Linked DNA regions of Homo sapiens: regions 2, 3, 4, 5, 6 and 7 are each linked to region 1. The links are contacts of gene promoters, found by promoter capture Hi-C in blood cells and fetal thymus (Javierre and others, 2016). All regions are on one chromosome and are shown on one strand. Each heading gives the region's core, a stretch centred on a gene start or on the middle of the fragment in contact. The rest is flanking DNA. Distances are from core to core; before and after follow the strand shown. Region 1 holds the start of XRCC2 (X-ray repair cross complementing 2). Region 2 overlaps KMT2C (lysine methyltransferase 2C). Region 3 overlaps KMT2C (lysine methyltransferase 2C). Region 4 overlaps KMT2C (lysine methyltransferase 2C). Region 5 overlaps KMT2C (lysine methyltransferase 2C). Region 6 overlaps KMT2C (lysine methyltransferase 2C). Region 7 overlaps KMT2C (lysine methyltransferase 2C).

Region 1 (3,544 bases), core at 366-2,865:
CGCTTGAACCCGGGAGGCGGAAGTTGCAGTGAGCTGAGATGGCACCATTGCACTCCAGCCTGGGCAACAGAGCGAGAGTTCATCTCAAAAAAATATATATTTATATATAAAAAATATGTTTATATGTATTATATACTTTCTATATAATCTATATTATAAATATATTTTTAAATATATATTTATATAATATATTTTTAAATATATATTATATATAAATATATTTTTAAATATATATTATATATAAATATATTTTTAAATATATATATATCTATGGTTTATAACTGTAGCCGTTCTTATACTAAGCAGTGGTTCTACTCTTTAGGAACAGGGATTATCAAACTATGGCCAGCAGGCTAAATCCAAAAAACAAAGCTTTATTGGAACGCTGCCATGTGCCTTTATTTATCTATGACTGCCTTCCCATTAGAACAGCAGAGTTGAGTGGCTGTGACAGAAACGGCATGGCCTGCAAAGCCTAAATATTTACCACATGGCCCTCCACAAAAATGTTTGCTGACTCTTTTGAGATTGCTTCCTCTCTCATCTGCATAAAAGATCCTTCATACCCTGCCCACTGCTCAGCGCTTACTTCCCAACCTATTGTCCCTCACTCCCTTTGTTCCAATTTTACAGAAATACTTGCAGTTATCTAAATTAGCCATGCTCTTGCTTAATTCAGAATCCATGTACTCCCGACTGTCTCCGCTCTGAATGTCATCCTCTCCTTGCCAAACCATTTCAAATGGTCCTTGAAACTTCAGTCATCTCCTCCTGCATCTTCCATGATGCCCGCCCCTCTAATGGACAACAAACTTTTGTGCAATACTGTAATTCTTACAGCAGCCTCCCTTACTAGTTCTTTAATGGCAGAAGTTATGTCTTTTGTTGCTTACTCCTATCCCTTAACACGTAGTTGACACACAGTAAGTGCTGGACACTTGGTTCAATTCTTGAGGGGCATCCACCGGCTTGTGTGGCTCTGGAGCTACCTGGGCTGGAAACGAATACTAGGGGGTGGCGAGGGCCAGCTGCCCTAAGCAGAGACACGTGGGCTACAGGGAGGTGAGGCAACCTCCGCAAACACCACCTGTTCCAGAAAAGCTCCAAATGCTCCAACGGGCGACCCCTCCCCTTTTCTAGCTTTTCTTGCATAGCTTGACATTTCCAACGGTAGTTAATTTGTGAGGGGTTTTTAGACCATAACTCTTGGGAGGAGAGACCTCGTATGTTATATCGATCTGGGCAGGCAGCAAGTCTTCCAAAGAAAGACTTCCTCCACCTCCGCCCGGTCCTCCCACCTCGGAGGACTCCAGGCTGCCCAGGGGCGGACCCCTGGGGCCCAGGTGAGAGGTGGCAGAGGGTGCCAGCATCGCGGGCGTCTAGGCCGAGAGGCCGGTCCCAGCCCGGCCAGGCCGCGCCGCCCCAAGCCTCCCAATCCCCCGGGTTCCCTCGGCTCCCCTCGCCCACCGGCGGCCTTGTTCCCATCTCCCTCACTCCCAACCCGGCGGCTCTCACCTCGGTCCCAGACTCAGCCCTATGGAAGGCACTACACATCGCCCCGAAGGCTCGGCGCAGGAGAGACTCAACTTTCCCGCCACCAACGCCATTCACCAACTGCGCAGACTCTACGGCCAGTCAAACCCGCCCACCCGCGCGCGTGCGCACTGCGCCAGGCCGCGGCCGGGGAGGCGGGAGCATGCGCAATAGGGTGTGCGGGCCTCCCCGCCCCGCCCCCAGTTCCTGTGACGTCAGACTTCCGCGTCCCCCGCGGCGCTCTCCCGCGTCCCCTTGGAGATCGCTCCGGGGTGGCGGGGACAGCTGGTGCTTTTCTTGTCTGTTGTAAACTTTGGTTCGTTATTATTATATTAGGTAAAGCTGGTCTTATGTATTAATTTGTTTAACCATTAAAAATAATTGTATTGCACAAGCAGGCCCCTTTGTCCGTTCTCGGGTTAAAAGCCTCTGGCTGTGTGTGCGATTCATGGTTAATTCTGGAAAAAAAGAGAAAAGTATACTGTATTTAAAAGAATTTTTAAAATATACCGAGCCTGTGGATTTATCAAGTTGCTTTTTGAGGTAGGCAGGAGGATCACTGGAAGTCGGGAGTTCGAGACCAGCCTGGCCAAAATGGTGAAACCCCGTCTACAGTAAAAATACAAAAATTAGCCAGGTGTGGTGGCGCATGCCTGTAATCCCAGCTACTCAGGGAGGCTGAGGCAGGAGAATCGCTTGAACCAGGGAGGCAGAGGTTGCAGTGAGCCGAGATCGCGCCATCACACCTGAGCGGCAGAGCGAGACTCTGTCTCAAAAAAAAAAAAAGACAAAAATTTGGATATAGTAGCATTGGCCATTATTATCAAGATGACAAAATGTTTTCTGGAATGAAAAAGTTTCATGCAAAGATATACTTTTCACCCACCTAGTTTAGTTTTCAAAAACGCTAGGAAAGAGCATATACCAATGAAGTATTTCTCATGGGTAATATTAAAGTTGCTCATTTTGTAAATTGGAATGGTTTTGGTTCCAAGTCACAGAAAACCCAACTCTTACGTCCTGAAACAAATGGGCTTTACCGGGTGACATCACTAGAAGTCCAAAGGTAAGACAGGCTTCAAGGTTAGTTTAATTGAGAGGCTTGATGAGGCAAACAAGTACCTCATTTCTTTTTACCTCAGATTCATGTTTTCTACCTTGGCCTCTTCTCTACGTAGGGCTGCGGGCCCGTATCTGAAACATTAACAACCATCAGGAATGAGGTTGGTCTGGTTAGCTTAGGCCTGAATCGTGTGCCCCACTTACTTTTCTTTTTTTCTTTTTTTTTTTTTTTTTGGAGACGGAGTCTCATTGCACTCTCGCCCAGGCTGGAGTGCAGTGGTACCATCTCGGCTCACTGCAACCTCTGCCTCCCGGGTTCAAGTGATTCTTCTGCCTCAGCCTCCCAAGTATCTGGGACTACAGGCACGTGCCACCACGCCAGGCTAATTTTTGTATTTTTAGTAGAGATGGGGTTTCACCATATTGGCCAGGCTGATCTCGAACTCCTGACCTTGTGATCTGCCTGCCTCGGCCTCCCAAAGTGCTGGGATTACAGGCGTGAGCCACCGCGCCTGGCCCTGTGTGCCCCACTTCTATCCGGAGTAGAGACATATTTTTTCAAAGCACACAGGCCTTGTGGAAAGGTGTGGAGAACAGTAAATGACAACAATAACAACAAATTGTGAATCATTAACAAGAGGAGTGGGAGTGGATGCTTGGGAGGCCACCTCTACCGTCTTTTTTTTTTCTTTTTTCCCTTTCCTATGGTGCTGAACCACCTATATCTTCATTACACCCTCTGTAATGAGGATATGTGTATACCAAACCACATGTGTAGGTCAACCCCCTCGTCCAATTCCACACACTTCTATACAAAGTAAATATTTCCTCACATAGTAAATCAATATTTGAGAAAGGAGACTTTACAATTAAATAGCTGCTCTAGGCTAAATTAGTTTTTCAGTCTCCACACTGTTCCTAATGAAGAAGACATGTCAGCTGAACTAGT
Region 2 (3,544 bases), core at 492-2,991, 500 kb before region 1:
GGTGGAGGTTGCTGTGAGCCGAGATCGCGCCACTGCACTCCATCTTGGGTGACACAGTGAGACTCCGTCTCAAAACAAAACAAACAAACTCCTCAAGGAGGAATAGAAAAACTCAGTGCTTTATTCCAACTGTAATTCTAATAATAAAATCTTATAAGCATATCGCATGCCACTCTAATACCCATAGTAATATACGTTGAGACTCAAGAAAACTCCTACCAATATTAGGGAAGAACGGTTCTGATCGCTGACGAATCATGGCTTGCATCTGTCTTTGCTGCTGCTGTTCTTGCCTTTCTTGATCCAAAAGATCCTGTAGAAGTAGAGGCTGTTCTTCTAGAAGAAGGGGCCTCTCTCTATTCTGCTGTGCTAATGTTTGAGGAATCATTAGCTGTTGGGGTCCAGACATGCTACTGGTACCAGACTGACTTGTTTGAGGCCCAGTTTGAGTTGCAGGTTTTCCTGTCCCCAGACTGTGGTTAACTGTTGATTGACCTGGAATGAGCCCTGGGTTTACCTGCACACCCTGAGAAAAAACATGGTTTACCCTAGAGACTACTGTCACATTAGAATTCATGGCATTATCCAAAACACGGCCAGGCGGTGCTATGAAAGGAGGCAAACTTGACACATGATTGGATGGGGAGGCCGGCAGAGTTGGTGGTGGTGGAGACCCCGATGGCCTAATGTCTGAATTATCAGATTTCTCATTAGCAAGTAAACTTGAGAGAACTGGAGTTGATCCAGTTATGCCACAAGAGTTTATTACATCTTGAGCAGGTAGTTGAGTGGATGCCTGAATGACATTTGCACTGGGGCCAGCAGTTTCTCGATTGGTTCTTTTCTCAAATAGATCTGGATCACAAGGATGCAAAGAAGTCTTTTCTCCATCATTTAGGTCTGAGTGAGCAGAAGCCTGTGAGCAAGGAGTGTCAACATTATCTTTATTCTCATCATTTTTTTCAGTTTCACATTTGGATTCCACCTTAGAATTTGGAGACAGTACTTCCGTTTTTACCTCATTGGTAACAGTGGATTTTTTCTGTGGTGAATGTTTATCAGAGAGAACCAGAGTTTTGTTTTCTTGTTCCTTTTTTTTTGGTTCAACAGATACACACTGATTATCTAACTTATCATCAATTGGAAGGTCTAGTTCCTCATTAAACATGCTTTTCTTATCTCCCATGTCAAGTTCTGGATCTGTATATGCAATGATATCAAACTCTCCTGACCTTAAGAGGTCATCCAGGTTGGGATCATTAGTTTCCAAATTATCTAAAGTATCCAATTCAACTACCTTGCCATCCTCTGTATCTAAATTTAAGTTTTCAAGATCTTCATCATCTAAGTCTTTGACTTCAACCCCCTCAAGGTCTTTAACATCCAGTTCCTTCACAGAAGGGTCATCAGAATCAAGTTTTTCCTCTAGACCATCAGAAGGCTGGGTGGTTATCTGTAAATTATCAGACGTTGTTTCAGACGGTACAGATGTTGACAAAGGAGCTTCTGAAAATTCACCACCTAGTGGATGGTTCAGAGTCCTCATGACCATAGAAGATGAATGGACAGAATGACCTTGCTCTTGTTGAGATGGTGGCACTTGTTCCAAATCTGGGTGCACAGGTAGCTGATTAGGTAGACCCTGGGGAGGTCGTCGCATGGGGTCTGTGTGTCTAGGGCCCGGAAAGTCTGGCCGGGGAATGAAGTTTCCATGTCTCAGATTAGAAGATGCCTCTACAACGCTGCCAGGTGGAGCACTGAAAGGCAGCCGTTGCCTTCCGTCAGGAGCCCTATGTCTCAGTTCAATATATGCTTGGCCCAGTATGTTGTGCTGCTGAACTGGCAAGCTCTGTGGTGAAAAATGCTGAGGAAGTCCAACTGGATTATTCATTTGTGAGTTATTTAAAGGCCTAGGCATATCTACAGATACTGATCTTCTTAGCTGTGGAGAAACTCCAGATCCCTGTATTTGCTGAGGAGGCACAAGGAAGCGCTCTTGACTCGGCATGGTACCATGACTACCTCCTGGAAATCCAAATCTTTTAAAAAAAAAAAAAAAAAAAAAAAAAAAGCAAATAGGTATTATGTTAAATTTAGAGTTAAGTTGAAAAAAAGAAAAGTCTTCAATTAAACTGTACATACAAAATGTTGCCAAATACTATGACTTACAAAAGCAAAGCTATCACCATTAAAAAGTATTTACAGTATTCATATGCAAGTAAGATTTTGCTAAGAATCCTATAATGAACACCATATCTGAGCTCTAAAGGCTTAAGATTTAACAGATAACAAAAATGAAGACAAAGGAAGAACAACCAAGCAGATGAAATCAATTGTTCAGAGATAAGAACAATACTACTGGACTTTTTCAGGAAGAGTTTCTTTTATCTATATTTAGGGAGGTTCGATGGAGGAAGCTGATTCGGGGATGATGTTTGAATGAAGATAGGTCTTCATACCTATTGAGGGACTTACAGGCCTCAGTACATGAGACTACAAAGGCACAGGTTTGATGATGGGATAGAATAAACTTAGAGAAAAGGACAAGTAGGCCTCATCTATAAAGATTAAGTAAATGTATAAATTGTTGGACTATTTTATATTGTACTTCCTTCTAGACAGGATTACAGGCAACTTACACAGAATACAAAGCATAGCAAGAGGCATAAATTATAACAAGGTGGAAGAAAAAAGGGAAATTAAGAGTAAGATTACAGGCAACTTACACAAAATATAAAATGCAGAAAGAGGCATAAATTACAACTAAGGTAGAAGAAAAGGAAACTAAAAGAATATAACATGGAGGTAGAGATATAAGACTAAAAGACATAAAACTAAAAAGCATATCTTAAAGAACTATTTCCTTATTATAACTAGGGCATAGGTTTGGCTTTGACTTTAGCCACTTTGAAAAAGGAAACATTCTTATGATTCATCACCACTAACTTACAACCCTATCTCACCATGGAAAGTTCCTAAAGGGAAAGTCCTTTCAGTTCGGAAATCTCTAAAATTTATTATTATTATTTTTTAAATTGAGACAGAGTCTCGTTCTGTCTCCCAGGCTGGAGTGCAGTGGCGTGACCTCGGCTCACTGCAACCTCCACCTCCTGGGTTCAAGTGATCCTTTTGTCTCAGCCTCCTGAGTAGCCGCGAATACAGGTGCAGTGCCTGCCGCCATAGCCGGCCAATTTTTGTATTTTTACTAGAGGCAGGGTTTTACCATGTTGGCCAGGTTGGTCTCGAACTCCTGACCTCAAGTGATCCGCCCACCTCGGCCTCCCAAAGTATTGGGATTACAGGCCTGAGCCACTGCGCCCAGCCTAAAATTAATTTAGAATGTAAAGTTAAAAGGTAGAAATTTGGAGAGAGGACAAGTCTCATCACATCGTAGGAGGCTTTGCCTACGCAGAATAGCTACATTTTGAGGATGTCATATGATAAACTGCATCATTAAGGGTGCAAGGTAATGCTAACACAGTTAATACTTAAAAACAAAGGTAATGTTTTCAGAGTCTGTAGAGTTCTTAGAGGAAAAAAATGT
Region 3 (3,544 bases), core at 544-3,043, 480 kb before region 1:
AATAGTATTTAACTGACAGAAATAATTAGAAGTTAAATTATAACCATGCAAAAATCTTTAAAAATCATATTTACTCAGGTCTTTTAGAAAGCCTAGATGTAGGGCAAATATTTTACCATCTGTGACCATTTTGTCTAGTTCAGGACTGAGGATCCCATCTAGCTGTTCTTCACTTAATGGTCGTGAACTCTGATTGACATTTGGCTGAGGCAAAGAGGAAGGATCATCAGTGACAGGACCAATATCTACAAGAGTAAGGAAAATAAATTTAAAGGTACATTCAGAATACTCACACAAAAATGTATAGCACTATTTACCTGTACTTAGTATATAACAATATGATTAAAATAGAGAAATAAAGTCTGTAATTCTGAATCAGAATTCTCATATCAATTTGGAGAGTCGCTCAGTAAAAATTAGGCACAATATATTTGTATTCGGTGCCATGTAAAGTTCTATTTCAAGTAAAAACATTTCCTGAGGAATAAAAGAATACATCTGATTTTAACTTGCCAACTCCTGCCAAAAAAAAAAAAAAGCTTAAGATAGGAGTTTATGAGAAATCGATATGCAAATAATTGCTTTAATTTGGAAAATAGTGTTATCAAATGTACAGTTCAATTATTATGCACAGTATGTAAAAAGGAATATGTTTCATATGAATTAATGAAAAGCCCTAAAATGCTCAGTGTTTAATATTATCCTTTGTAAATAACTTCAATTATAGGTAATATTTTTAAAGTATTCTATAGGCACATTCTGATTATGTACATTACATTTTATAAAATTGTAACATGCTGCAGCTCAAATTTGTAAGAGTCACATGTAAAAGTGGTTTATCATCTACATTTTTTTCATGCTTTCTCAATATTATTACTATTAAAAAGTAAAAATTTAGTCTGTTCTTATTTGATCTTATATTAGGAACTAGCTCTACGACATTTAGGTAATATTGTAAACCACATATTAACAAAAATAAAATTATTCATTAAAGAAAAACTACTGAGAAAGTCACCCGAAGTACAGTACAGCTATACTATGCTTTAGCCACACACAAAAAGGGAAAAGCAAAGTATGGATTAGTGACAAATTAGCACTACTGATAAACAGCATGCACCTACAGGTTGTTTCAGCTGAAATCACTATAAAAAAAGAAGACTACTTCTAGTCAGCCGTCATCCATTGCTCAGTTTCTTACCAAATGGAAAAGGTGAGCTCTCAACCTGGAAAGTGCATAAATCAAGACCTATAAGACCCAAACCAAATAAAATGGATGATTACCACAGGAGCAGGAAGTGAGGGAAAATACAAACAAAAGAAGAAAAAAGATACAGCAAGACTTTAAGGCAACATGCCTTAAATGTGATGCAATTAGAAAGACGACAGAAATTAACTAACTTGCTATACCCCTCCTAAAGCAGGAAAGCTGAGGCAGATCAAAGAAAATGCTGAGTCCTTTAACAAAGCCAAAAACAAAAACACAGTTACTGGGAAACAGACAAAAGGCTAAACTTGTTCCACACATCATACACCTCTCGCTCACATCAGAAACCAGAAAAAGGGTAAACAGTATTCATATATACCTGAATGATCAACTGATTTTGCTAGATCATCTGAAATTATTCCAAGAATGTCATCATCTGTGTTTAAAACTTCAGAAATATCAGCTAATGGGTCATCAGCAGGACCTAAATATAGTAAATATGTTTTTTAAAATTTCAGTATTTTCTCAGATATTAAGCCATTTGCTAAAAACCTAGAGTACAGCAGATACTGAGTGAGGCAAGTACTGGAATAAAAACCTGAGACTCTTAATTTTACAGTAAAAATTTTCCATAGCAAAGGAGATAATGTTTTGAATTACAAAAATTTACTAAAAATTCAGACGATTTTGTCTTGTGACTAATGTATATTGAGACAAAATTTAAAGACCTGTAGGCAATAAAAGTGAAACAGAATAAATGCTGTAAGAAACAAAGCAAAGAAAAAAAAGTTTTTCATTAAGAAAGTGGCATGTCTAAAAGTGACATTGAGAAATTAAAACACAGTAGGAAAAGTTAAAATATGAAAGACAAACCTGTCACTCTTTAGAAATTCCATATGGAGCACAAGCCAGAAATTCCATATGGAGCACAAGCCAGGTACCATCTAGTAACTACTTGCAGCTTTGCTGTTCATACTGATTACTCACTCATTTATTTTAAAAAGTATTTCACTACCCACAGAACTGTGTCTATGGATCACGTATCAGGCATTGCCCACTCAGTAATGACTGAAACAAAGTGCCTGCCCTCAGAGGGCTTACTTTCTCAGGGGGAGTTAGTAAATAAACGACATCGCTGTAAGTGCTATTTAAAGAAAAAACAAGGAAAAAGGATTAAAAATAAGCTGCGGGGATGTTGTATTAGACAGAGTGGTCTATGAAGACCTTTAGGAGATGACTGAGCATAAAACTAAATGAGGGAGTAAGTTATATGCACAAAGATGGAGATAACCCTCCAAACTAAGGCAAAGCAGACATAAAGCCCCTGGGGCAAGCCGGGTTTGCCAACGAGAGGCCAGAGTGTTAACAGTAAGAAAAACTGTGGTAAGGATAAAAAAGAGGCAGCTAGGGCAAGATTATGTTAAGATTTTAGAGATTATGGGGAAGACTGGGTTTTATTCTGAAGTGTAATGAGAAGTTGCTGGGAGGCTGAAAGATAGGAGATGACTAATATTTTAAAGGGAACATACTGGCTGCTATATGTAGAGCAGATGAGGGGTGGGAATTAGAGAGGGGCTGGTAAGATTAGAAAAGGGCACTGGTGCAGTCTGAGAGGTGAGGTGATGACAGCACCAGGGTTCTAAGGAAAGCTGAGACAAGTGGTCGGCTTTGGGACGTATTTTGAAGGCAGACACAAACGTGGATGAATGAAAGGGAAAGAAAAGTCAAGGAGGATTCTACGGGTTTGGGCTTAACCAAGAAACTATTGGAACTCTTGTTTAGGCTAGCTTTAATAATTATATTAGTCATTCAGTAAAGAGAAACTGAAATTTTTAATCCATCTCAAGCTTATTTTTACTTAAAAGGGGGAGGAGGGCATAAATGTAATATTCCAGGTCAAATACTTCTGTCAAACAGTCTTGGTCCCATTATATAGTTTTCAAAATGTAATTCATATGTAACATATCACATTAAGTTTTGCGTGCCCAAATATCCAGGAACTTTTTAGAGAAAATTATTTCAATAATGACAACACTGTAGTTGAATGAAAAAAAATCTGGATAATTTTTTTAGGAGTCATATAGCAGTTTTTTGTTTTAAAGTAATGGAATTCTACTATACAATTATAACTAATTTTTTAAAGACTGTTTTACAAGTTTGCCCCTACCTAAAGGATTTTATATCTGAATAAATCATTAAAATTGATATAATAGGCTACAATGAATGACATGTTAAAAAAAAGCCTTTAGTCATTAATTTTCCATTATAAAGTGAAAAGAGTAGTTCAATTGCAAAGAACAATTAATCTAGGTTTTGAAATGGGTATATTTTTCTAGTCCT
Region 4 (3,544 bases), core at 783-3,282, 420 kb before region 1:
GGGATAAAAGAAAACTACCAAGTAACAGATCTGAAAGTACAAAATATTTTTAATCATGACCTCCCCCCTCCAAAAAAAAAAAAAAAAAAAAAAAAAACCTTTCAAGAGAAACTAACCTTCTTTAGATCCATTGTCAATTCTTTTCCAGAATCTCTTAACTAAAAGATTTAGTTACCGTAATGTATATACATACAGCAATCGCAAAAATGTCTTTGGGATAAAGACATTATCTTGTAACTCAATCAAATTAGACAATATGAACATACTGCTTACCAGCAATAAGAAGACTATCTGTGTCAAGACTTTCTGAGGGATGACTCTTCTGTTGCTCTTCAGTGTGGACTTGAACCGCTGTGAGTAACACATTTATAAAATCTCTAAGGAGTCAAAATTTCTGTAACACTGTTCCCTCAACAGTAATTTGAGTAAAGAGTTTTATTCTACTAAATGTCAATTTCCAATATAAGCATGAAACATTGTACCACTTATTAGTAAGTTATGAAGACAAAATTAGAAGTCTTTGCACTATGGTAAAAATTTTTTAATTGTCTTTTTCTCTTTTTCTTTAACAACTAGACCTCACAAGAAAGATTATAGAAAATAATTTTAATGAGAGTTATTATACGTAAACTTAATAAATTTCAAAACATCTCAGTGGCTTTTTATGTATACATTATAATTTTTATGTATACTATATAATTGAACATACAACTTCACATACAACACCAAAGACTTTCAGATGAGCCTGTGATTAAATGTAACAAGTAGTTTTCCCCCAACATGGTCTCTTATTAATTCCAGATCTGCAAGTACAATAATAGCTCTTATCAATATTTACTACAAAAAGCTTAATTGAAACATCATGGAAATAAGTGAAATAACCCTCAATAGGACTGCTGAGATGATCCAATACAGTAAATTTTTCATTATCTCAGCATGAAACATCTCATCATCAGCAACAGCTCTACTTAGCAACTACAACTAAAGAAATAAAAATACGAATTGCTTTTTAATAGAAAATCACTTGGTCCCTTAACCAAGTAAGTACTTATGATTAAGTCTAGATGGTAGCTGAACTACAAATACACGCATGTCCTTTCTCCTATTAATTTGTCTAAGATTATTTTACTAAAAAACTCTTCCTAAGTGACTGCATCTTGGCTTTTACTGAAGTTTTAGTCAATATTCACATATTTATTGTATATACACATTTTCTTCAAAAACAGAGTATATCCATTAAACATTCTTACCATCTGGAACAATTCCAGGAGTGGACTCCTGACCGTTGACATCTTTATTAGCTGCCTGCTCTGAGAATACCATTTGATCTTCAGGGCCTTCAACTTCCATTTCATTGTTATAATCTTAACAAAAAATTATTAATTCTTTAGCTCAGAATGAGTTTTTTTCTTTGTTCATTAAGTCAACAATTATGATTTTGTATGAGTAAGGGCAAATCATCACCAAAAATGCTTTAAGTTTTTCTTCAGATTTTTCTCTGTTGAACCACATGTATATTTACATTTTTAAAAAACATGAAAATTATAATGCATCAAAAGGTGGGCCAACCGTGGTAGTTCATGCCTGTAATCCTAACACTTTGGGAGGCCAAGACGGAAGGAACGCTTGAAGCCAGGAGTTCAAGACCAACCAGGCCAACATAGTGAGAACCCATCTCTAAAACAATTTTTTTTAAAAGGTAACTGGCACATTATTTTAAAAGGATATTTCAAAACTAAATACTGATGGCATTCTGGAAATGAAAGGTTAGTAATTAAGATGTTTAGTTATCCTTGAAGATGATAAAGAGAAGTTTTACAAAAGCTGCCACTCATAATGATGAAAATGAAAAACAATCTGGCGAGCAGTTCTATTTCCTTTACTCTCTAAGACTCATGTTTTTAACAGTAGGATACTACTAAAAATATTCCATACCTGAACAAAATCTTGGGCTGAAAAGGTGATAATTAACTTAAGAAGGACATTACAAAACTACAACATGCTTAGAGAAAAATAACCCACATTATAAAGAACAAACTAAGCAAACCCAAAGACTGGGGAACTTCCACTGTCGGCCTGAAGAACACAAGTGAAGGAAAGCACACTAGACCCGGAATTCAAATACTAAAAAAAACTATCTTAAGTTAGATTAGATTTTAGCCATCAGATTCAGAGATGACCAAGATAACAAATACATTTAAAGGTTGAGAAACTGAGAACAAGATGGAATCTGGAATACAGGATCCTCTCTTCCTGATTAAAGCAATATATTGGTGATACAATGGCACAACATTACAAAAACAAAAAATTTAAAAAAAAATCATTCTCAAATTTACCTGTAGTGAGCTCAGCTATCTCCACTTCCTCACCTGGCTGTAAACGATCCATCTCAGCTCCCAGGTGTTTACAATACATGCAGATATACTCTTCTTTGAGCTGAGTATCCAGTTCATGATCTGTTGGTTTGTCACACTCTAGGTGAACCCACCTGCAGTGATAAGTATACTTAAATAAAAATTTCTAACATCGAGTTATTATCTAGGTAAAGAGAAGGCATTGCTGAAAAGCTGGATATGAAAACAGTTAATTAAGTATGAGAGGAGAGAGGTTAGAGGAGTTGCTAACTGACAAAGGTTTTTTAAAGCACATTTGTGCATGTCACTAGAGATGCTGCCGTATTTTTACTTGACATTTTTAAGCTATTTTCTCTTTACTTTTCCCTATTAGTGCTCATTTCTGATGTGGTCTGGTCTTATCTTTTGCCCATTTACTTCCTTATGCCTTTGAGACTCAAAAACATCATTTAATTCCATCTATAACAGCAATCAGTACTGATGGAATTGCTAGAGTGATAAAAACTTAGAAGCTGTAAGATGGTAGAGCAAATGACCACATGAATAAAACAATCGACAAAACAACTGAATAGAATAACTATCTTCTTACCTTTTGCACATATTACAATGAAGCATGTCTTTCTGCAATTCTGGATGATAACACTTCCCACAGAAGGGACATAAGTTATCCTGCTGTTGGTAACAATTGTCACATATCAGGCAATTGTGGTGCCACTGAGAACTAGACCGTGTGCCACACTCTATACATATTCTGCAATTCTAAACACCAGGAAAAATAAAAACAAAAACAGTTTGTTATGCATTTGTAATTGTAGTTCTGATGTAAACCTTTAAAAAGTCATGAATCATTTGTGGATTATACATTAAGCTTTTATTTTCATGACACTAATTTAGGGTACATGCTTTTTTTTTTTGAGATGGACTCTTACTCTGTTGCCCAGGCTGGAGTGCAGTGGCGCAATCTTGGCTCACTGCAACCTCTGCCTCCTGGGTTCAAGTGATTCTCTCCTGCCTCAGCCTCCTGAGTAGCTGGGACTACAGGTGTGTGCCACCACACCCAGCTAATTTTTGTGTTTACTAAAGACACAGGGTTTCACCATGTTGGCCAGGCTCATCTTCAACTCCTGACCTCAAGTGATCTGCCTGCCTCAGCCTCCCAAAGTGCTGGGATTACAGGTGTGAGCCACTGC
Region 5 (3,544 bases), core at 467-2,966, 390 kb before region 1:
TCAAGCTTTTCACAAATTTGGTGAAAAATATCAACTTACAGTTTCAAGAAGCTCAGCAACCCCCAAGCAGGATGAATACAAAGAAAACCACACCTAGGCACATCATAGTCAGACTGCTGAAAACCAAAGATAAAGAGAAAATCCTGAAAGCAGCCAGAGAATATCAAAACATTATTATATACATGGGAATAATGATACTACTGACACCACACCTGACTTCTCATTAGAAACCATGGAAGACAGGAAACAATGCAACATCTTTTAAATGCTTGAAGAAGAAAAACATAATCATCCCAGAACTCTGTATTCAGGGAAAAACAGCAAAAATGAATGCAGACTTCCACTTCCAGACAAAATGCAGAAAATGTACTTTTCCCTGTTCTTTCCACTAAATACAGCTTTAAAAACCCTTAGCCGTGATACATAAGACAAACAAAAGAAGACAACAAAATGTAGAGAGAGGGCAGACCAATTAGGGCTTCAGGAGCCAAGAAACAAAAGAGGATGAATTCCCTAGGTTTCCTTTCTGACTCATATATACAAGAAAAGTTGCTAGAGAAGCAGACAACTCAGAAACACCAACAGGCACACACATACGTAAAACTCCAAGAAAATTCTGCTGTCTTTTGTCAAAAAAGCAGGGAAGCGGCAGGCTACCAAGACAAAAAACTCATAGACAACAACAAACCAGTTTAAGCCAAATGGTACAAATAAAAGCCCAAGCCATATACCTTTTGCAAAGACTTAAAAGGAGGACATAGTCAGCCATTCCCCACTCCTGCCCACGGACAACATGATACCACAGCAGGCCAACTGGGACACAGGACATTCATACCCACTGAGCAGTAACGCGGCTTCCTCCCTCTAGAGTGTGGGTGGAAAAAAAGTGGGGAGCCTGAGTTCAACACCCACCCAGTGATAAGGACATATCCCTATCCCTCCCTCTACAGAGATATGACAGGAGAGGCCTATTGGAGAATCCAAACTCAAAGCACTGCCCAGTGATAACTTAACCACCCCTCCATCCCATTCAGTGGAGGCCAAGTGAAAAGCAGGAACCTTTTGAGCCAGGGTGGTATTCACAAAGGTGTAATGCAAGTCCAGAGTTTTCACTCCTACTCAGCATTTACTAGGTGTACGTCTCCATCAATGAGTCAACAAAGGCCTACTAAGGAACTGGAATCTTCACATACACCTGGGAGTAGTAACAAGGCTGTGCCCCACCTCCACCCCAAAAGCAAAGTTTCAGATAAATCCTACTAAAAGGGGGTATTTAAATAAAATGCAGAGCTTCATAACACAACACTTAAAATGCAAAGGATTCAACCAAATATAACATGTTATACCATACTAAGAACCAGGAAAATCTGAACAGGAATTTGAAAATATAGTCAAAAGGTGCAAACAATGAGAATTCATAGATGTCATAATTATCTATCAAAGATTTTAAACTATATAACACTGCTTCAACAAGCAATTACAGCCGGACACAGTGGCTCACGCCTGCAATCCCAGCACTTTGGGAGGCAGAGGTGGTTGGATCACTTGAGGTCAGGAGTTCGAGACCAGCCTGGCCAACATCATGAAACCCCATCTCTACTAAAAATACAAAAATTAGCCAGGCATGGTGGTGCACGCCTGTGATTCCAGCTACTCAGGAGGCTGAGGCATGAGAATCACTTAAACCCAGGAAGCAGAGGTTGCAGTGAGCTGAGATCATTTACTGCATTCCAACCTGGGCAACAGAGCAAGAGTCTGCCTCAAAAAAAAAAAAAAAAAAAAAAAGCAATTACAAACATACTTTTGAAACAAAGGAAACAATACAAAGTTTTGCAAAGAAATCAAGAAAGAAACAAATACCAAGTTGAAAACTAAAAAATATGCTAACAAAAATAAAATACAAACTAAGCTGAACAACAAAATGGGAGAGATTACCCAACCTAAACAAGAGAAGAAAATGAACTGATTTAAAAAAAAAAAAAAAAAAAAGTGGCCAGGTGCGGTCGCTCAGGCCTGTAATCCTAGCATTTTGGGAGGCCGAGATGGGTGGATCACCTGAGGTGAGGAGTTCAAGACCAGCCTGGCCAACATGGCAAAACCCTGTCTCTACTAAAAATACAAAAATTAGCTGGGCATGGTGGCACACACCTATAATTCCAGCGACTCAGGAGGCTGAGGCAGGAGAATCACTTAGACCCAGGGGCGGAGTTTGCAGTGAGCTGAGATCGTACCACTTCACTCCAGCCTGGGCAAAAGAGCAAAACTCTGACAATAAATAAATAAATAAATAAATATTTTTTTTTTAAAAAAGACATTAAAGACACTTGTGGGACTATAATAAGTGATGCAACATTCCTGTCACTGGAATCTCAGAAAAGGAACATGACGCAGCTGAACAATTATTCGAAGACCCACAGATTCAAGAAATTGAATAAATCCTAAGAGGATACACACAAATAAATCAATGCTAATATATATCATAAACTTCTGAAAACTAATGACTAAACTAAAAAACCCTGAGATAAATAAGAGAAATGACACCTTATCCACAGATGAAAAACAACTCAAATGACAGCAGATTTCTCACCTGAAACCATGGAGGCCAGAACAAAGCAGCATAACATTTTTGCAAGTCCTAAAAGAACTGACAACAAAGAATTCTATATCCAGCAAAAACATCCATTAGTAATGAAAGGGAAATCAAGAAATTGTGAGATGAATGAGAACTAAAAATTAGTCATGAGACAAAACTACACCAAAAGAATAGTGAGAAAAGTTATTGAACCAGAAAGGAGAATGATAAAAAGAAGGATTCTCAGAACATCCTGAAGGAAGAAAGAACAAACAAATAGTAAAAATATGGGCAATAAAACAGACTTTACTGTTCCTTGAGTTTTCAAAATAATGTTTAACAATTGAAGCAAAAATTGTTACACGATGCAAAAGCTATGGTGGGTAAAACTGTTGATGCATTTCCAAAACTGAAAGCAGTTGGCACCAAGCTGTATTAGAAGTTGTCACATTCTCAATTGGCACTACAACTACAGTAAAAATAATGTAGAGTATCATTGAGAATATCACTGATGAAGCAGCAAAAATCATTAATGTTTTAAGTCTTGATCCATGAATACACATCTTTTAATTATCTATGTGACAAAACGAGAAATAAAGAGTAAAATAATTGTTACACCATAGTTTTTCTTGAGGAAAGAATTTGTGATCATGTGATTTATAAACTGAAATAAATGCTTTTTTCATGGAACACCGGTTTTACATGTAAGAACAAATAACAAACCACAATTATTAAAACTTGATTATCTAACATATTTCTTGAAAAAAGGAATAAAGTGAGCCTGTCACTTCAAGGAAAACAACTTAGAACATGAGTGGACAATAAGAAGATTTGAAAAACTTATATCCAACAATGTAAGCTTAACTAATTCCAATACTTAAAGACTTTTCTGATGAGATCAGTGGATTATAACAAATGTGAATTTTGTTATTTATTAAAAATGTGTAGGACTAGGCAAGGTGGCTCACACTT
Region 6 (3,544 bases), core at 76-2,575, 360 kb before region 1:
TCCTGTATTTGTGATAGCAGTAAAGTGGCCCTTCTAAAAATGTGGACCAACCACTGAGTGCCAGTATCAATATCAAACTGAGAAATTCTTAGAAATACAGAATCTGTCTGGGTGCAGTGGCTCACTCCTGTAATCTCAGCACTTTGGGAGGCCAACGCTGGTGGATCTTTTGAGGCTGGGAACTTGAGACCAGCCTGGCTAACATGGCAAAACCCTGTCTCTACAAATTAGCTGGGCGTGGTGGTGCACGCCTGTAATTCCAGCTACTCAGGAGGCTGAGGCATGAGAATCGCTTGAACCCAGGGGACAGAGGTTGCAGTGAGCTGAGATCGCACCACTGCACTCCAGCCTATGCAACAGAGCAAGACTCCGTCTCAAAATAAAAACCAAAAAAATGCAGAAGCGCAGATCACAAGTGAGATCTACTGAATCAAAAACTCGTGCAGTGGGGCCCAGCAATCTGTGTTTGGTTCTGTTTTTTTTTGTTGTTGTTGTTTTGTTTTGGTTTTGAGACAGGGTCTCACTTTTTTTGTTGCCCAGGCTGAAGTTCAGTGGCATGAACACAGCTCACTGCAGCCTCAACCTCCAGGGTTCAAGCAATCCTCCTGTCTCAGCCTTGCCAAATAGCTGGGACTACAGGCACATGCCACCACACTCCGGGAATTTTTTTCATTTTTTGTAGAGACAGGGTTTCACCATGTTGCCCAGTCTGGTCTTGAACTCCTGAGTTCAAGCGATCCACCTACCTCAGCCTGCCAAAGTGCTGGGATTACGGGCTGTGAGCCACCGTGCCCTGCCAGCAATCTGTGATTTAACAAGCCGTCTGGTTATTATGATGCACACACAAGTTTAAGAATAACTGAATTAGTGATTATTTCTTCAACAAACAAAATTAGTTTTTAGTCATTTTATTTAAATATTATATATGTATTTGATATGTTTCTGGTATCTTTATATAAAGCAAACAAAGTATTACTTAGTACTTTGTTGAGGTGATATACAAAGGAAATGTATAGAAAATAAACTACACATACACCTCTACTTCCCTCATCCCACAGTGAGAGCACGTATCAATGATTATTAACACTTCAGCCTTTAAATTATCCATCACATAACACTTGAACCACTATCAGTCAATCTGCAGTTCAACTACAGAATGAGATGTACTTTAAATTCCAGTAGCACCATATCATGAGTGCTGAGTTACAATACTGTTATAATAAGATAATCTACCCGGCTAAGACCTATTTTCATTCATGCCCAAATAAAATAGACTCAGAATGCCACATTCCCCAAGTTCTCACTTTAAAATTTTCCCCTTTAAAATTTTCTCTTTTCTCAATTGTCAGATCTCCATGGCACCGCTATCTACACAAGAAAAAATACAAGTATTTTAAAAAGCATCCAGTCCGGTGGTGGTACTGTACAGATTTTAAATAGATAAACCTTTTCTTTTACCTAACCAGGCATATTTAATAATGATTTTTTTATAGTATGATTATAATTATTTCTAGATGAAAGGTATTTATTATTGAGGACATTAATAATGTATTAAAATTAAAATGCTTCCAGAATTAAGAGGCAGTCATTATTGAAAACATGCCCATACCTGTAGAATCAAATAAGGCTTGGATATCAATGGCATCTGGAAGCCCAACCAGACTGAGTTCATCCCACAGTTTACCAGCTTGATCATCTGAAGCTGTCTGGGTGCTTACACTTACACAAGATACTATATTCTGCTGAGGAGATCGTTCTCTGAAAATAAAATAAAATAACTGTGAAAGTGAAAACAAGCAGAAAATTGTTTCATTTTTAACTGTTTAAATGCAATGTACTGCCAAATCAATTTTAATTTATCAGCCATTAACTGTCATAAAACAACTTTTAGAATTCATCTGTTAGTATTATCCATGGTATAATATTAAACTGGGTTGCCATATTATATCGTATAAGTAACAAGTAAGAAAAAGAGTCTCCAAACCCACAGGGAAGTATTAAATTGTAAATTTGTTTTTCCATTCCATAATATAATGTTTTTAAAACCAACTCTCATATCCTAGTCAGGAATTGTATTTAACACATAAACTGAGTATTTCCTTTGGCTTTACTTAAACGCTTACAAAACAAAACTTGATCAAATCAGAAATGTTTAGTCTGCTGTATCTTGACTGAGGACTGCCACAACAGAGGTGGCAGTTAACTGTGTAAAGAAAGGATATTTTCCAGGGAAAATGAAAACCCACTACAGAGTGTGAAAACAGAGGCAGGAGGAATGGAATGTATCAGCTGTAGCTTTCTTATGGTCCCGTCAACAAATCTCAACAGCTGGTCTGTGGCATGACGTTGCAAGTACTCTCAATCAAGACTGTATGTCACAAATTGGAAGTAAAAAGCAAAAGCAAAATAGCTACCAAAGGCATGTAGAATAAGGAAGATAGTATAACAGCAAAAACTATAGTCTAAAAAAAGAACATTGAATAAAGTAAACAACATATGGGAGATTTCAGGCTTTCAAGGTCTAACACTTTAGGTATTATTTAAGACCATTAAATAAATAAAAATGGCTATTGTACTTAATTATTAAATATGGGAAATCAGATGACTACCACTAAAACTTAAATCTTCTCCTAATATCATAGTATTTAACCTGATCATAATTCTGGATTAAATCACTATTGAATATAGATCATAACTCACTGCACTTCTGTATGCTGGATATTTATCATGATTCCTATTAAGAGAAAATCAGCACAATGACCAGGGTACTAAACATTTTTATACCTGGAATCATTGAAAGAAAAAAAGTATTAACATATTTCAATAAGTACATTTAAATATCAAACCATATAAAAATAACCAGTAATGTTTTTATGTTCAGCATTAGAAATGCATAGACTTTTTTTAAAAGGTATAGCATGCTATGCTAACTTTAAATTCTCATTTTAATAAATGCCCACAGTAAAATGAGAACAAATTCTTTCCTATAAGTATAATCTCTATTCCTACAAATATATGCTCCATTACAAATCATTGTTATTTTATTGGGAGAAAAAAAAAAGACCAACAGTTCATCTATAACTACTAAATGTTGTTTTAGCATACTGTTTTGCACTAGTATTTGATGAGGGAAAGGGGTGTAAAAAAACCAAGAGAATGACTAATTTATTACTAATCAGGTCCTAACCAGCAGCTTAATCAAATTCAACCTTCAAGTTTTGAGACTGGTTTGTATGTATATACCATATCAGTAAGATATCAATGTCAACACTAAGGATGACAGCAGCCCAGCTTAGAAAGAGATATCAAGAGGAATCAGCTGAAATGCATACCCACAAAATTCTTAGTTATAAAACAAAAAAAGGAAAAAAATTCTTGATTTTTTTATTTAGTGAAAATGAGCAAAGACATTTTCAAAACCTTTGTAAAATTGTTTTTTAAATTAACTAGCTATTTAAACTTCATTAGCAACATACATTTTGTAAATATTTGAAATCATTACCAAGCTAAATTAATTGCCTACCCTTCAATGATGCCAAATTTT
Region 7 (3,544 bases), core at 633-3,132, 350 kb before region 1:
ATTATTTATTGAAATGAGGAAATCGTAGGGAGAAGCAGATTTGGGGCAGAGGTGGAGGCAGAATCAAGCATGGTACTGGACATGTTAAGGGTGAGGTGTCTAATACACTTCCAAATAGAGACGTCAAGCAGACAGTTGGACATAAAAGTCTGGAGTTCAGGTAAAGAAGAGTAACGGAAATGAACACGTGAGACTCTTAAGGGCACACACAGAGGTTACAGCCATTAGAATGAATGAGCTTTCTTTCCCAGGGAGTGAACAGAGACAAAAAGTAGACAAGATATCTGAGGACTTATCCTTAAGAACTCCAAAATTATAAACATGTAGAGTCTCCACAGCAACTAGCAAAAGATAAAATGAGGAGTGAGATGTCCCAAAAGCAAAAGAAAGAAAATGGTTCAAGAAGATGAGAGAGGTCAGGTGCAGTGGTTCATGCTTGCACTTCCACCACTTAGGGAGGCTGAGACAGGAGGATTGCTTTAGCCCAGGAGTTCCAGACCAACCTGGATAACATAAAGAGACCCAGTCTCTACCAAAAAAAAAGCTTAAAAATTAGCCAAGTATGGTGGCACACACCTGTAGTCCCAGCCACCTGGGAGGCTAAGGTGGGAGGATCACCTGAGCCTGGGAGGTTGAGCCTGCAGTGAGCTGTGATCACACTACTGCACTCTACCCTGGGCAACAGAGTAAGACCTTGCCTCAAAAAATAAAAAAAAAAAGAAAGGAAAGGAAGAAAAGGGAAGAGGAAAAGGAAGTAGAAGGGAAACGAAGGGAGGAAGGAGGGAGAAGGGATGGAGGGGAAGGAGGGAGAAAGGGAGGGAAGGAGGGCGGGAAGGAAGGAGGGAAAGAAGGGAGGGAGACAGGTAAGGAGGGAGGGAAGGAAGGAGATGGGAGTACCAAACTGATGGATAATTTCATTATTTTATTCATGTCTTTCAAATAAGGTCTAAAAACTCTTAAAACTTCAAAGCTGAATTATACAATGATATATTACAGGCCCAGTGTAGTGGCTCATGCCTGTAATCCCAGCACTTTGGGAAGCCGAGGCAGGTGGATCATGAGATCAGGAGATCGAGACCATCCTGGCCAACATGGTGAAACCCTGTCTCTACTAAAAACACAAAAATTAGCTGGGCATGGTGGTGCATGCCTATAATCCTAGCTACTCAGGAGCCTGAGGCAGAAGACTCTCTTGAACCAGGGAATTGGAGGTTGCAGTGAGCTGAGATGGCACCACTGCACTCCAGCTTGGTGACAGAGCAAGACGCCATCTCAAAAAAAGGGAGGGGGGGAGGGGTGGTGGGGGGGGGGAGAAAAAGAAAGAAAAAAAATAGGTTATAATGTCCTGTGTTTCCTTTTTTAATGAATGGGGAGAAGGTAAGGAACAAAACTATCAACTTAAGTTTACAGGTAAGTATCAAAAATTAATCCTCATGCTAAATGCTCACATTTATGTCTTCTGCCAGGAACAGCACATTGGTAATATTCTGTACTGGCCTGAGGTGACTAGAGTAAAACCGTAGTGTGCTGCCCTGCTCTACAATTGCCTAAGCCCACAGATGTAACTCATCCCAACTAAACACAGAGGTATCAGCTTCAAATTTAGCTACTAAATCATAAAATCCCACCCAGATTTTCATCCTAAACTCATACTCCTTGAATTTTCTCTATAGTCATTTCACTGCTTTATTCCTGTCACTAATATCCAATCCAGCTGCATTCATTCTCTAACCTGATTTTGGCTTCTACACCAACAGAGACCAGGGAGTTTGCCGATTCCTCAGACACAGATCGCTGAAGAGTTGGAATTAGCTGTTTGCTGTTATCCACTTCTGCTTCAGCATCCTCTTCTGCAGATTGTTCTTTGATTTCTGCTTAACAGTAAACAAGAGAAAACAAAGAGTCATTTTTGTGTTTATTTTAATCACTGGTGAATGTATCTATAAAGCATAGGTCATAATGTAAAAAGAAACAACAAATAACAATATTTCACTAACACAAGAAAAGTTCATGCACGTAATTAGTGGTATTGTGCATCTTTATTCTCTACCGCAAAATGATTATCAAAATAATGTGAAGCATGGTATACTTTTCCTTGTGCCCAAATTATAGCTGACTCAGAGAAGTTTCATCCTAGTAATAAATGTTAAGAATCTTGGCCAGGCATGGTGGCTCATGCCTGTAATCCCTGCACTTTGAGAGGCCAAGGCAAGCAAATCCCTTGAGCTCAGGAGTTTCAGACTGGCCTGGGCAAGATGGTGAAACCTCATCTCAACAAAAAATGTAAAAATTAGCCAGGCAAGGTGGTGAGTGCTTATAATGTCAGCTACTCAGGAGGCTGAGATGGAAGGATATGCCTTGAACCTGGGAGCCAGAGGCTGCAGTGAGCTGGGATCGTGCCACTGTACTCAGGCCTAGGTGACAAAGCCAGACCCTGTCTCAAAAAAAAAAAAAGAATCTTATTTTTGGCCAGGTGTAGTGGCTCACACATGTAATCCCAGCACCTTGGGAGGCTGAGGCAGGCATATTGCTTGAGCCCAGTAGTTCAAGACAGCCTGGGAAACATGGTAACACCCCATCTCTACAAAAAATTAGCTAAGCATAGTGGCACACACCTGTAGTCCTAGCGACTCTGGTGGCTGAGGTGGGAGAATCAATCAAGCCCCGGCAGCGGAGGCTACAGTGAGCTGTGATGGCACCACTGGACTCCAGCCTAAGCAACACATCTAGATCCTACCTCAACAACAACAACAACAACAACAACAACAAAAAGATTTTTTTTTTTTTTTTTTTTTTTTTGATGGAGTCTCGCTCTGTCCACCCAGGCTGGAATGCAATGGCGCGATCTCGACTCACTGCCACCTCTGCCTCCCGGGTTCAAGCAATTCTCCTGCCTCAGCCTCCTGAATAGCTGGGATGACAGGCGCCCACCACCATGCCTGGCTAATTTTTGTATTTTTAGTAGAGACTGGGTTTCACCACGTTGGCCAGGCCGGTCTTGAACTCCTGACCTCAGGTGATCCACCTGCCTCGGCCTCCCAAAATGCTGGAATTACAGGCATGAGCCACTGTGCCCGGCCAAAAAAAAATCTTATTTCAGGATTATAGCAATTGGTCTACAGAACAAATGTATTTCAAAGTGACTCATTAAAAATTGCTTCACACTTTATAAAATCATCATTAAAAGACTCATCATGTATCTTAATTATTACCCATTCTAAAAGCTTAATATTTGAAAAGGACAAACCTTCACTTTATTGCCTTTTTCCATTCTCCTTGAATCCAACCCCAAACACCTTAAATGTTCTTTCTCAGGAGGCAGCCTAACAGCTGAGAGGATTTCCACACACCACTACCCCTAACATCATTCTTCTTGTTTAATAAAAATTATATGTCCACTCTGTCTGTCATGCTCTATTACTACAATGAAGGGACATTACACCTCCCCACCAGTGCTCATGATGCAGTTCCATGCTCTTGGCTGGCTCCTTCTTTTCTAATTTGAAATTTATTTAGACCTTTCTGCATCACTAACCCCAAACAA

Evidence for each region. The method cuts DNA at HindIII sites, captures the fragments that hold promoters and counts their contacts. A CHiCAGO score of 5 or more calls a contact.
Region 2: a fragment that was not itself captured here is called in contact with the fragment with the promoter of XRCC2 in region 1 in 6 of 17 cell types (erythroblasts, total CD4 T cells, total B cells and 3 more); the score reaches 9.2 in erythroblasts.
Region 3: a contact is called between a fragment that was not itself captured here and the fragment with the promoter of XRCC2 in region 1, in 5 of 17 cell types (fetal thymus, erythroblasts, naive CD8 T cells and 2 more). The highest score is 8.5, in fetal thymus.
Region 4: a contact is called between a fragment that was not itself captured here and the fragment with the promoter of XRCC2 in region 1, in 12 of 17 cell types (naive CD4 T cells, activated CD4 T cells, erythroblasts and 9 more). The highest score is 8.2, in naive CD4 T cells.
Region 5: a fragment that was not itself captured here is called in contact with the fragment with the promoter of XRCC2 in region 1 in 1 of 17 cell types (total CD4 T cells); the score reaches 5.4 in total CD4 T cells.
Region 6: a fragment that was not itself captured here is called in contact with the fragment with the promoter of XRCC2 in region 1 in 7 of 17 cell types (monocytes, total B cells, erythroblasts and 4 more); the score reaches 9.0 in monocytes.
Region 7: a fragment that was not itself captured here is called in contact with the fragment with the promoter of XRCC2 in region 1 in 6 of 17 cell types (total CD4 T cells, naive CD4 T cells, megakaryocytes and 3 more); the score reaches 7.5 in total CD4 T cells.

Annotation. Positions count from the first base shown.
Region 1 is chr7:152,674,526-152,678,069 of GRCh38, forward strand. It overlaps XRCC2 (X-ray repair cross complementing 2), which reads right to left and starts at 1,616. Exons shown (of 3, transcript NM_005431.2): 1 at 1,516-1,616. The coding sequence starts at 1,554. RefSeq lists silencers at 1,003-1,092, 1,393-1,862 and an enhancer at 1,093-1,937. The HindIII fragment of the contact is 16,438 bases long and covers 371-3,544 here.
Region 2 is chr7:152,175,972-152,179,515 of GRCh38, forward strand. KMT2C (lysine methyltransferase 2C) reads right to left here. Exons shown (of 59, transcript NM_170606.3): 38 at 220-2,039. Among named protein-coding and RNA genes, the nearest start is that of GALNT11, 150 kb to the left of the region's middle. The HindIII fragment of the contact is 5,531 bases long and covers 1-3,544 here.
Region 3 is chr7:152,194,324-152,197,867 of GRCh38, forward strand. KMT2C (lysine methyltransferase 2C) reads right to left here. Exons shown (of 59, transcript NM_170606.3): 28 at 1,584-1,688; 29 at 117-245. Among named protein-coding and RNA genes, the nearest start is that of GALNT11, 170 kb to the left of the region's middle. The HindIII fragment of the contact is 2,512 bases long and covers 538-3,049 here.
Region 4 is chr7:152,249,603-152,253,146 of GRCh38, forward strand. KMT2C (lysine methyltransferase 2C) reads right to left here. Exons shown (of 59, transcript NM_170606.3): 10 at 2,944-3,113; 11 at 2,337-2,488; 12 at 1,251-1,364; 13 at 274-351. Among named protein-coding and RNA genes, the nearest start is that of KMT2C, 180 kb to the right of the region's middle. The HindIII fragment of the contact is 2,375 bases long and covers 846-3,220 here.
Region 5 is chr7:152,286,261-152,289,804 of GRCh38, forward strand. All of the region lies in intron 6 of KMT2C (lysine methyltransferase 2C), which reads right to left. Among named protein-coding and RNA genes, the nearest start is that of KMT2C, 150 kb to the right of the region's middle. The HindIII fragment of the contact is 3,426 bases long and covers 4-3,429 here.
Region 6 is chr7:152,310,189-152,313,732 of GRCh38, forward strand. It overlaps KMT2C (lysine methyltransferase 2C), which reads right to left. Exons shown (of 59, transcript NM_170606.3): 5 at 1,610-1,758. Among named protein-coding and RNA genes, the nearest start is that of KMT2C, 120 kb to the right of the region's middle. The HindIII fragment of the contact is 6,484 bases long and covers 1-3,544 here.
Region 7 is chr7:152,328,869-152,332,412 of GRCh38, forward strand. It overlaps KMT2C (lysine methyltransferase 2C), which reads right to left. Exons shown (of 59, transcript NM_170606.3): 3 at 1,733-1,871. Among named protein-coding and RNA genes, the nearest start is that of KMT2C, 110 kb to the right of the region's middle. The HindIII fragment of the contact is 2,680 bases long and covers 543-3,222 here.